Linked DNA regions of Homo sapiens: region 2 is linked to region 1. Evidence: promoter capture Hi-C in human tissues and cell types (Jung and others, 2019). All regions are on one chromosome and are shown on one strand. Each heading gives the region's core, a stretch centred on a gene start or on the middle of the fragment in contact. The rest is flanking DNA. Distances are from core to core; before and after follow the strand shown. Region 1 holds the start of POLR3A (RNA polymerase III subunit A). Region 2 overlaps DLG5 (discs large MAGUK scaffold protein 5).

Evidence for each region. Contacts are between HindIII fragments. The study calls those that stand out against the background at their distance.
Region 2: a fragment that was not itself captured here is called in contact with the fragment with the promoter of POLR3A in region 1 in 4 of the 25 tissues and cell types used here (H1 embryonic stem cells, adrenal gland, dorsolateral prefrontal cortex and 1 more).

What each region holds. Positions count from the first base shown.
Region 1 is chr10:78,027,900-78,032,994 of GRCh38, reverse strand. It overlaps POLR3A (RNA polymerase III subunit A), which reads left to right and starts at 3,480. Exons shown (of 31, transcript NM_007055.4): 1 at 3,480-3,631. The coding sequence starts at 3,588. RefSeq lists an enhancer at 3,311-3,560. The HindIII fragment of the contact is 17,222 bases long and covers 1-5,095 here.
Region 2 is chr10:77,844,141-77,848,856 of GRCh38, reverse strand. All of the region lies in intron 5 of DLG5 (discs large MAGUK scaffold protein 5), which reads left to right. Among named protein-coding and RNA genes, the nearest start is that of DLG5, 80 kb to the left of the region's middle. The HindIII fragment of the contact is 9,044 bases long and covers 1-4,716 here.

The sequences.
Region 1 (5,095 bases), core at 2,231-4,730:
AAAAAAAAAAAAAGAAAAGAAAAAAAAGGAAAAAAAAATTGGAAGCCAGGGGCAGTGGCTCACGCCTATAATCCCAACACTTTGGGAGGCCGAAGCAGGTAGATGACCTGAGGTCAGAAGTTCGATACCAGCCTGGGCAAAATGGCGAAACCCCGTCTCTACTACAAAAAAAAAAAAATTGGCCGGGCGTGGTGGTGCATGCCTCTAATCCCAGCTATCTGGGAGGCTGAGACAGGAGAATCGCTTGAACCCGGGAGGCGGAGGTTGCAGTGGGCCGAGATCGCACCATTGCACTCCGCCTGGGCAATAAGAGCGAAACTCCGTCTCAGAAAAAAAAAAAAAAAAAGGAAAAAAAAATTGATTGCTCCAGAAATATTTTCTTTAACGTGAAACAGACATGTAAAGAATGTAAATATATATGTTCCGGAGAAATAATAAGAAGAATTTCCCAAATGTTAGTGCAGACGAGGTGTCCAAGGTGCAGGCTTTGCGGGCAGCTTTCCTATTTTCTTTTTTTTTTTTTCCTGAGACAGAGTCTAGCTCTTGTCACCCAGGTTGGAGAGCAATGGCTTCATCGCGGCTCACTGCAACCTCGACCTCCCGGATTCAAGCGATTCTCCTGGCTCAGCTTCCAGAGTAACTAAAATTACAGGCCTGCGCCACAATGCCCAGCTAATTTTTGTATTTTTAGGAGAGACGGGGTTTCACCATGTTGGCCAGGCTGGTCTCCAACTCCTGACCGCAAGTGATCCGCCCCCGCCTCGGCCTCTCAAAGTGCTGGGATTATAGGCGTGAGCCACCGTCCCCGGCCGACTATTTTTCTTTTTTTTCGTTTTTTGTTTTTTTTTTTTTTTTTGAGACCGCATCTCGCTCTGTCACCCAGGCTGGAGTGCAGTGGCGGGATCTCGGGTCACTGCAACATCCGCCTCCCAAGTTCAAGCGATTCTTCTGCCTCAGCCTCCCGAGGTGACCAACTATCCTTATTCTTAAGAAAATAGTCAGCCGGCTGGGCACGGTGGCTCATGCCTGTAATCCCAGCACTCTGGAAGGCCGAGGCAGGCAGATCACGAGGTCAGGAGTTCAAGACCAGCCTAGCCAATATGGTGAAACCCCGTCTCTACTAAAAATACAAAAATTAGCCAGGCATGGTGGTGCGCACCTGTAGTCCCAGCTACTCGGGAGGCTGAGGCAGAAGAATATTTATTGAGTGATTGTAATGTGCCTGTTACATTCTAATTACTTTTACCTTCATTTTGCTATTTAACCTTCCCATTGACTCTAAGAAATAGGATACATATTACTCACCCATGTTATAAATGGGGAAACTAACACACAATAAGATTAAATAACTTTCCCAAGTTCACACTTTATATACGTGTATATATACACGTATGTGTATATATACACATATATCTATATCTATATCTATATATATATATATATATATTTTTTTTTTTTTTTTTTTTGAGGCAGAGTCTTGCTCTGTTGCCCAGGCTGGAGTGCAGTGGCACAATCTTGGCTCACTGCAACCTCCGCCTCCCGGATTTAAGCGATTCTCCTGCCTTAGCCTCCTGAGTTGCTGGAATTACAGGAATGCGCCACCACACCAGGCTAATTTTTGTATTTTTTAGTAGAGACGGAGTTTCACCATATTGGTCAGGCTGGTCTCAAATTCCTGACCTCATGATCTGCCCACCTCGGCCTCCCAAAGTGCTGAGATTACAGGCGTGAGCCACCGCGCCCGGCCTGCACAACTTTATTTTTTATTTTTTTTTATTTTTGAGATGGAGTTTCACTCTTGTCGCCCAGGCTGCAGTGCAATGGCATGGTCTCGGCTCACTGCAACCTCCACCTCCCAGCTTCAAGCGATTCTCCTGCCTCAGCCTCCCGAGTACCTGGGATTACAGGCGCACACCACCAACCCCAGCTAATTTTTGTATTTTTAGTAGAGATGGGGTTTCACCATGTTGACCAGGCTGGTCCCGAACTCCTGACCTCAGGTGATCCGCCCACCTTGGCCTCCCAAAGTGCTAGGATTACAGGCGTGAGCCACCACGCCTGGCTGCCTACACAACTTTAAATGGTGAAAGCTAGACTCCCATGATGGCACTGTGATTTCATAACTTTTGCTCTTAACCTCTAGATAAGTCACACACGATCCAACCCTTGTTGGTATAATATTGTAAACATCAGAGCCGGGTGTGGTGGCTCACACCTGTAATCCTATCACTTTGGGAGACTGAGGCGGGCGGATCACGAGGTCAGGGATTCGAGACCAGCCTGGCCAACATAGTAAAACCCCGTCTCTACTAAAAATACAAAAATTAGCTGGGCGTGGTGGCGGGCGCTTGTAGTCCCAGCTACTCGGGAGGCTGAGCCAGGAGAATCGCTTGAACCCGGGAGGCGGAGGTTGCGGTGAGCCGAGATTTCGCCACTGCACTCCAGTCTAGGCGACAGAGCGAGACTCCGTCTCAAAAAAAAAAAAAAAAAAAAAACAAAAAAAACCCATAATGTTGACTATATATATATATATATATATATATATATAGTCAACATTATTTCATGATTAAGTGATGGAGTACCGAAATGAGTTAGAAAAACCTGATATGCCTCGTTTGTCTGTGACATTGTGTTTTGCTAGTGAGGATCCATGGCGTCTGAAAATGAGATAGCGTCCCTTCTTAAAAATTGAAAGTTGTTAAACACTTTTGTTAAGTTCTGTTTTGAGTTTCTCACAAATAATGAGGACTTAGTTCTAATTCTAAGCGCTAAGCCCTGTGGTGATGTGATTTCCTTGCTAGGCTCATGCACTAATATATCACACTAGGATCACCTCCCACAAGTTCTCACAGACTGTAGACAACTTATTTCAAGACATGAATGATCTTTACTTTCCATTCTCCCTTTTCTTCTGTAGATTACCATGGCTGTTTTCACTCTAACAGATTTTCAACTGTTTTTGTAATCAATAATGTAAGTTTAATTCTTCCCCCCTCCCTCCAAATAACTTCATGAACTGGAGGCACATGTGCGCCCATATTTTCCGCTCTGTTTTCCTTTGTTGGTCCTCCACAGATAGTGCCCTCTGTTGGATGGGCCGGTTCATTTTAGCTTCCACCTTCCCTTAAAACAATTAGAAGCTCTTAATTTAGATGGTACTGATGTTAATGATGATGATTTTCCATTTTATGCAAGTTTTGGCCCTCTGCTTGTCTAAAAGCCTTGAGGCAAAGAGTTATATGCAGTTTCTCTGCGGGTGTCTGATTACGTGGAGAAATTGACCAGAAATGGGATTTTTAAAATACAGCACACGCCTCGGTGCGGCTTCCAGTAAGCGCCACCAGGTGACGGTGCGGGGAAAGGGAAAAAAAAAAAAAAAAAAGGCATGCCGGAAGTCTCTCTTGACAGACAGACGCGCGGGCGAGTAGCGGAAGAGGAAGCGGACACGTGGGACACTCTACGGTGGCCGAGAGGATGCCGCAGATGTGTTAGCGGCGAGTCCAGAAGCAGCCCCAGGAGGTGCTGGGGGCATCGTTTCTCTAATCTGGCCTCCCGAGTGCCAAGGAGGCGTCCCGGCAGCGGTCATCATGGTGAAGGAGCAGTTCCGGGAGACGGATGTGGCCAAGAAAATGTAAGACGGAGTAAGAGTGGCCAAAGGGCTGAGAAATAGGGCAAGGGGTCCGAGGTCAGCGGTCCCGGGTCTTGCAGGGTCAGAGATGGGGTGCAATGGGAAGGGGAGGGCCAGTAGTCCATAGGTGTGACCAGCGCCCAGAACTACCAGCGTTGGTCAAAGAGCATTGGTCAGGCTGAGGGGATTTCAGCACCTCGAGAGGTCCCTGGACTTGGGCGGAGAAGTCGGAGTGGCCTGAGCCTTAATGATTTGTGCACCCTGGGCCAAAGCTCGCATTCTCCTGAAGTCATACAATGATCCCTGTTCTTCAGCGAACTATCCCCTGCTGCAGCGAGGGGAGCAATCTGGGGCGGGGACTGTCTCTAATTCTGTCAGCCGCAGAGCGTCTGACACGGAGGCAGTAGTTGCTTACCAAAAGGATGGGGTTGCCCACTAGAAAGCTGTACCACAGGCCGACGGATGGCAGTGTCAGAAATAAAGCTGCTATCCGGACTTTTGCCTTCAGAAATACGTTATTAGGCGGTGGCTCCTTCTTAGAGTTCTCGGTAAGAAAGTGAATCCAGCCGGGCGCGGTGGCTTACTCCTGTAATCCCAGCACTTTAGGAGGCCGAAGCGGGTGAATCTCCTGAGCTCAGGAGTTTGAGACTAGCCTGGGCAACGTGGCGAAACCCCGTCTCTATCAAAAATACAAAAATTAGCAGGCGTGGTGGCGCGCCCTTGTGGTCCCAGCTACTCGGGAGGCTGAGGCCGAAAAATCACTTGAGCCTGGGAGGCAGAGGTTGCAGTGGGCAACCTCCTGCATTCCACCCTGAGTGACAGAGTGAGACGGTGTCTCAAAAAAAAAAGTGAATTCATCATTCTTACAGCAGACACTGAGGAGGATACTGCGCGTTATTCCCAGTGTTGGACGTTAAAGATACGGTCTGAATAAAACTTTTACTGCCTAATCTAGTTGGAGAAGGTACACAAGTCAACACTGGGTACGACAAGTGCAATGACAAGGGTAGGTCCAGGGGGTTTTGAGAGCACATAATGGGTCCAGGCAAAAGAAAGCAGACCAAACTGCTTTTTTCAAGGAGCAGACCTGAGGGAGAGAACACAGGTGATCAGAAGGAAGCAGAAGACTTGAAGCTGTGTTAAGAAGTCATCTTGTAGGCAGTGAGGAACCTTTGAAGGATTTTCAACAGGAGAGTATCTTGATAAGAGTTCTCCTTCTGGAAAATCTCTTGATTCATGGTGGAAAGAATTAGAGGTCGAGAGACCTTGAGACGGATATACAGAATGCCTTGCTTGGGCAGCTGTGTGGATGGTTGCCATTCACTAGAACAGGTGTCTTACCTAGGTGAATGCAGCATTCTCCCATGTGGTAGCTCTACATCGACACTGGCCCTTCACACCCACCTGTACACCTGCGCCCAGTCAGATATAATACATTCTCACAAAACAGAGAAAGTGCTTCTGTCA
Region 2 (4,716 bases), core at 1,273-3,772, 180 kb after region 1:
ACTCAGATCCAGCCTAGCTTTGTGGAAATGACCATCCTCTGTGTAAACCATTGGGATGGATGTGTATCCTTGTAGATTTTTTTTTTAATGTCACATTTAATACCCATATAGTTTAATTTTTATTCCCTGAAACCTGCTTTAAAAAAAAATCCTACAATATATCATGGGTTTCCTTACATTTTCTGTGAATTTGCACATACAAAAAGGTCCTTGCTTGTTTTGTTGTCTGTCAGGTGTTAATCGAATTCTGTGTGGAGCGTCTTGGTGGTCAACATCTTCCCATGTTACAAACCATGTTTCAGTGGACACACATGTCTTTGTGTTCTTTTGCACACATGTTTTGAAGTTTGAGCCTTACAGGTAGAATTCCTGGGACCAGGGCAGTGCACATGTTCTCCTAGGTCCTGCTAATCTATTTGGGAAACCTCTCAGGCCCCGAGAGTCTTCTCTCTCCTCCTCCTTGCCCTTTCCCCTGTCTTTAAAATATACTTTCTCTTGTAATTCATGAAAGTTGATTTTCTTGTCCCAGGTATCCTGAATGAATGCCCTTTGATGGGCCTGGAGGAAGGAAGAGAGGAGAGGGGTTTCCTGGTTGCTGAAGGGCATCCCTTACAGAGAAGCCCACAGAGGAGTGTTCTGACCAATGTAGGGTACAGGTAGGAGGGTTGGTCTCTTCCTGGCCTCCCTGCAGGGAACAGCTTAGACTGTGGCTGTCTTTGTGCCTCCCCTGTGCAACTTCCACCCATTTCTCCTAAGCCCCTTGAACTCACAGGCCAACTGTCCCGTGCTCAGGCTGGAGGGACATCATCTCTAAAGACTGCTGCCTGCCTGAGTGGAAAAGTTGACTCTCAGGCCAGGCTCAGGGCTCACGCCTGTAATCTTAGCACTTTGGGAAGCCAAAGTGGGTGTATCACTTGAGTCTAGGAGTTCAAGACCAGCCTGGGCAACATAGTGAGACCCCCATCTCTACAAAAAATAAAAAATCAGCCAGGTGTGGTGGGGCGTGTCTGTGGTCCCAGCTACTTGGGAGGCGGAGGCAGGAGGATCACTTGAGCCTGGGAGGTTGAGGTTGCAGTGAACTGTGATCACTTTAATTTTAGAATTCTGGGCCAAATTTAAATATTCTCTCTTCATTAGCTTTTGCTGGGAAGCTAAACATTTGACTGTAGTTAGGTGTGTGTGTGTGTGTGCGCACTCGTGTGTGCATGTGCATGTGGAAATACCTACCAAGAACATAATCCTCTGATGGCGAGAGGGAAAAATTCTAGACCAATAGATTTAGTTTTTTGGATTCTCCGGAGTTAACCATGACCTGGTTCCCCAGCTTTGTTCAGAGGCTGTTGGTTACATAGTACAGGCCTGGCACTGAGTCCTGTTTGTAGAGAAAGGGTGAGAAGTGTTTGGGGCCTGCGAGCCTCTTTGAGTATCTGGATGCTGCCCTGTGGGAACAGGTTATTCTGTTTGACTCCAAGGCTAGAGTGAGAACCAGAGGTTAGGAGTTGCAGGGAGGCGGAGTAGCTCCCGGTGAGCACGACCCTATCCCAAGGAGCTTTCACTTGTGGAGCAGGCCGAGGGTGGCCGTCATCGTGGTGGAAGCAAGCAGTACGGGGCCTGATCTCTCTCTCTCGGTCTTCTGACCCGAGGATCCTACCATGTTATGAAGGCTGGGGGGAGCAGCTGAAAGGACCTCGAGGTCTGTGACCCACCCTGTCGCACTGGGAATTCGTGGCCCACTCTCACGGCCCTTGCTGGCAGCCTGATTCACACGGCCCTGAATCATCCCTGGATTGTCACACAGGCCCGGATCCAGGCCCCTCAAGGTTAGCCATTCAGGGGACTGCAAAGAGGCCAAACCATGGTATAGACTCCTGATTCTGCCGAGCACTTGTGGAGGTGGGCTCTGCGGGCTACCACCCAGAACCGGGCTTTGTGTCATTTCAAGGCTGCCTTTGGAATGAGTTTGTTTCTGAGCTGGGAAGGCGGGAAGCCGCTGCAGGAGAGCGTTGGCTCGTCTCCCCGCGGCTGCCACCTTGTGGGGAACTCAGGCAATGACAGCCTCCTTTGTTCCCCAGCAAAGCAGACTCATTTGGAGCCAATGGGGTTCTCACTTGGCTTAGGGGATGTTTAGACAGTAAAACATTTGAGGTAATTTTTTTTTTTGAGACAGAATATTTCTCTGTCGCCAAGGCTGGGGTGCAGTGGCACAGTCTTGGCTCACTGCAACCTACGCCTCCTGGGTTCAAGTAATTCTCCTGCCTCAGCCTCCGGAGTAGCAGGGATTCCAGGTGCCTGCCACCACACCCGGCTAATTTTTGTATTTTTAGTAGAGACAGGGTTTCACCATGTTAGCCAGGCTGGTCTGGAACTTCCAATCTTGTGATCTGCTCACCTCGGCCTCCCAAAGTGCTGGGATTACAGGCGTGAGCCACTGCGCCCGGCCTGAAGTAATTTTTAATTGGCATTTTTGAGGTATTGCTCACCAATCAGGGCAATCCAGTTTAGATGCTGGACCTTTCCAGATGTGGGTAGAAGGCGTTGGTTGACCAGATGTCAGGACTGTCCTTCACTGACCCAGTATAGTCATGGTGAGCCCATTCTTCGTCTTTTTTTTGAGACGAAGTCTCGCGCTTGTCACCCAGGCTGGAGTGCCATGGCGTGATCTCGGCTCACTGCCACCTCCGCATCCTGGGTTCAAGCAATTCTCCTGCCTCAGCCTCCCGAGTAGCTGGGATTACAGGTGCCCGCCACCACGCCCAGCTAATTTTTGTATGTTTAGTAGAGACAAGGTTTCACCATGTTGGTCAGGCTGGTCTCAAACTCCTGACCTCAGGTGATCCGCCTACCTCGGCTTCCCAAAGTGCTGGGATTACAGGCATGTGCCACTGTGCCTGGCCAGGGCTTTTTTTTTTTTTTTTTTTTTTTAAAGAAAGATTTTAGATGTAGAGTGGGCACTGTCAGTGAGGTTCTGTTTCTCAGTGTGCATTCCTGTTTTGCAACAGTGATGCCATTTTACAAAACAGTGAAGATTTTGACTGCCTGAGATACCTGTGTACTGCTTTTTAAAATAAGTTCTGTATTTTTGGTGTACTAGTAAGATTTCCCTTGAAAGAAAATGTTCTGCTTTAAAAATAAATAAAGGAAAAAGAATGAGCCTGAAATGAACCAATCCTCCCTCCCTCTCTCCCTCCCTCCTTTCCCTTTCTTTCTCTCTCTTTCTCTTTCTCCTCCCCTTCCTTCCTTCCTTCCCTTCTTCCCTCCTTCCCTCCATTTCTCCCTCTTCCTTGACTTCCTCTTTAAGAGTCTACAGTCCTAGAATCTAATGCTTAGGTCTTAGAGGAAGACCTTACTTTCTTGTTGCTATGATTCTGACTTTTAAATTAAGCCCTCTTTTGCTTTTTGTGTTTTTCGTGTTTATTGAGAGCTGACCCTAATTCCAAAGGGAGTGTTCCATCGTCCCAGCTTCTGGTTCTCTAGGCTGCAAACGCTTGATAAACCAGGCTGCCACTGAATGAGCCAGGTGATTCCTCGGCTGTTGGAGCTGGAAGGGCCAGACAAGCTTTCCTGGTCTAGCCTGGGCATTTGAGGAATCCGGAAGCTGAAACCCAGAGAGGTGGAGTGACTCACCCCAGGGCTCAGATCCCATGAGGTGCTTAGCCAAAGCCAGCAGCCCCCCTGGCAACCTCTTAACTCATCTTCTTGGTTTGTTTTTTTCTCTATAACAGCACCCCAAATGAACTTTAGTGCCTGTCATTTAGAGTAGAATGCTGTCTAGCTTAAAACCCTCCACAGCTTCCTGTCTCACTCAGGAGACAGTCTTCACTGTGAGGCCTGCGGCCATGGCCACCCCCATGCCCACACCCACTTCTCCAGGTCCCCTTTGAACCCACCTCCCCCTGTGCATTGGGCTCTTGCTACTCCGCCTTGCCCCTCTCTGTCTCTAGAACACGCCTGCAGGCCCTGCCTCTGGGCCTTTGACCCTGCCCCCCTCTCTGCCCAGTGTGCTCTCGCTGCTCTTCTTCATTTGCCTCTGAAGTCGCCTTCTTCAAGAAGCCTCTTCAGCCTTAGCCTCCCTCACAGACCTCCACTCTGCTGCTCAGATGGCTCTCTCCAGCCCATTATTCTGTTTTATTTTTTATTTTCTTGATAGTTCTTACCTTGCTCTGAAGTTACTTTATTTGGCCTATCTGTGTGTCCACACCCTCCAAATTAGGATAAAAGGCCCACAGGGCACAGCGTCTTTCTGTCCTGTCTGGCATCACCAGCCCCTAGACCAGTGCTAGACATATTAGGTACTTGCATGGGATGCGGGGGGACCCTACACCATGGAGGGTCACCCTAGGGCTTTTGAGAGTCTTTAGGTCCGATTTACATAACCTGATTCTGGGCTATGTCACTTTCTGGGAGGACTCAAAAGATTCAGTATGTAATTATACTCAATGGCTGACATTTATTACAACAAAAGTACACAGAGCAAAGTCGGCAAAGGGGGAAAGGCGCGTGAGGCAAAGTCCAGGGGAAACTGGGCCTGAGTTTCCAAGAATCCTCTCCTGGTGGAGTTTCACCGGAGGCACTTAATTCCTCCAGCATGGAATCACAACAACACACAAGAAGTGCTGGCCTCCACGGAGGCCCATTAGAGACTCAGTGCTCAAGTGTCTTATTGGGGGCTGGTCATGTAGGAACTTCTGCCTGCCATGTACCCAGATTCTGGACTCC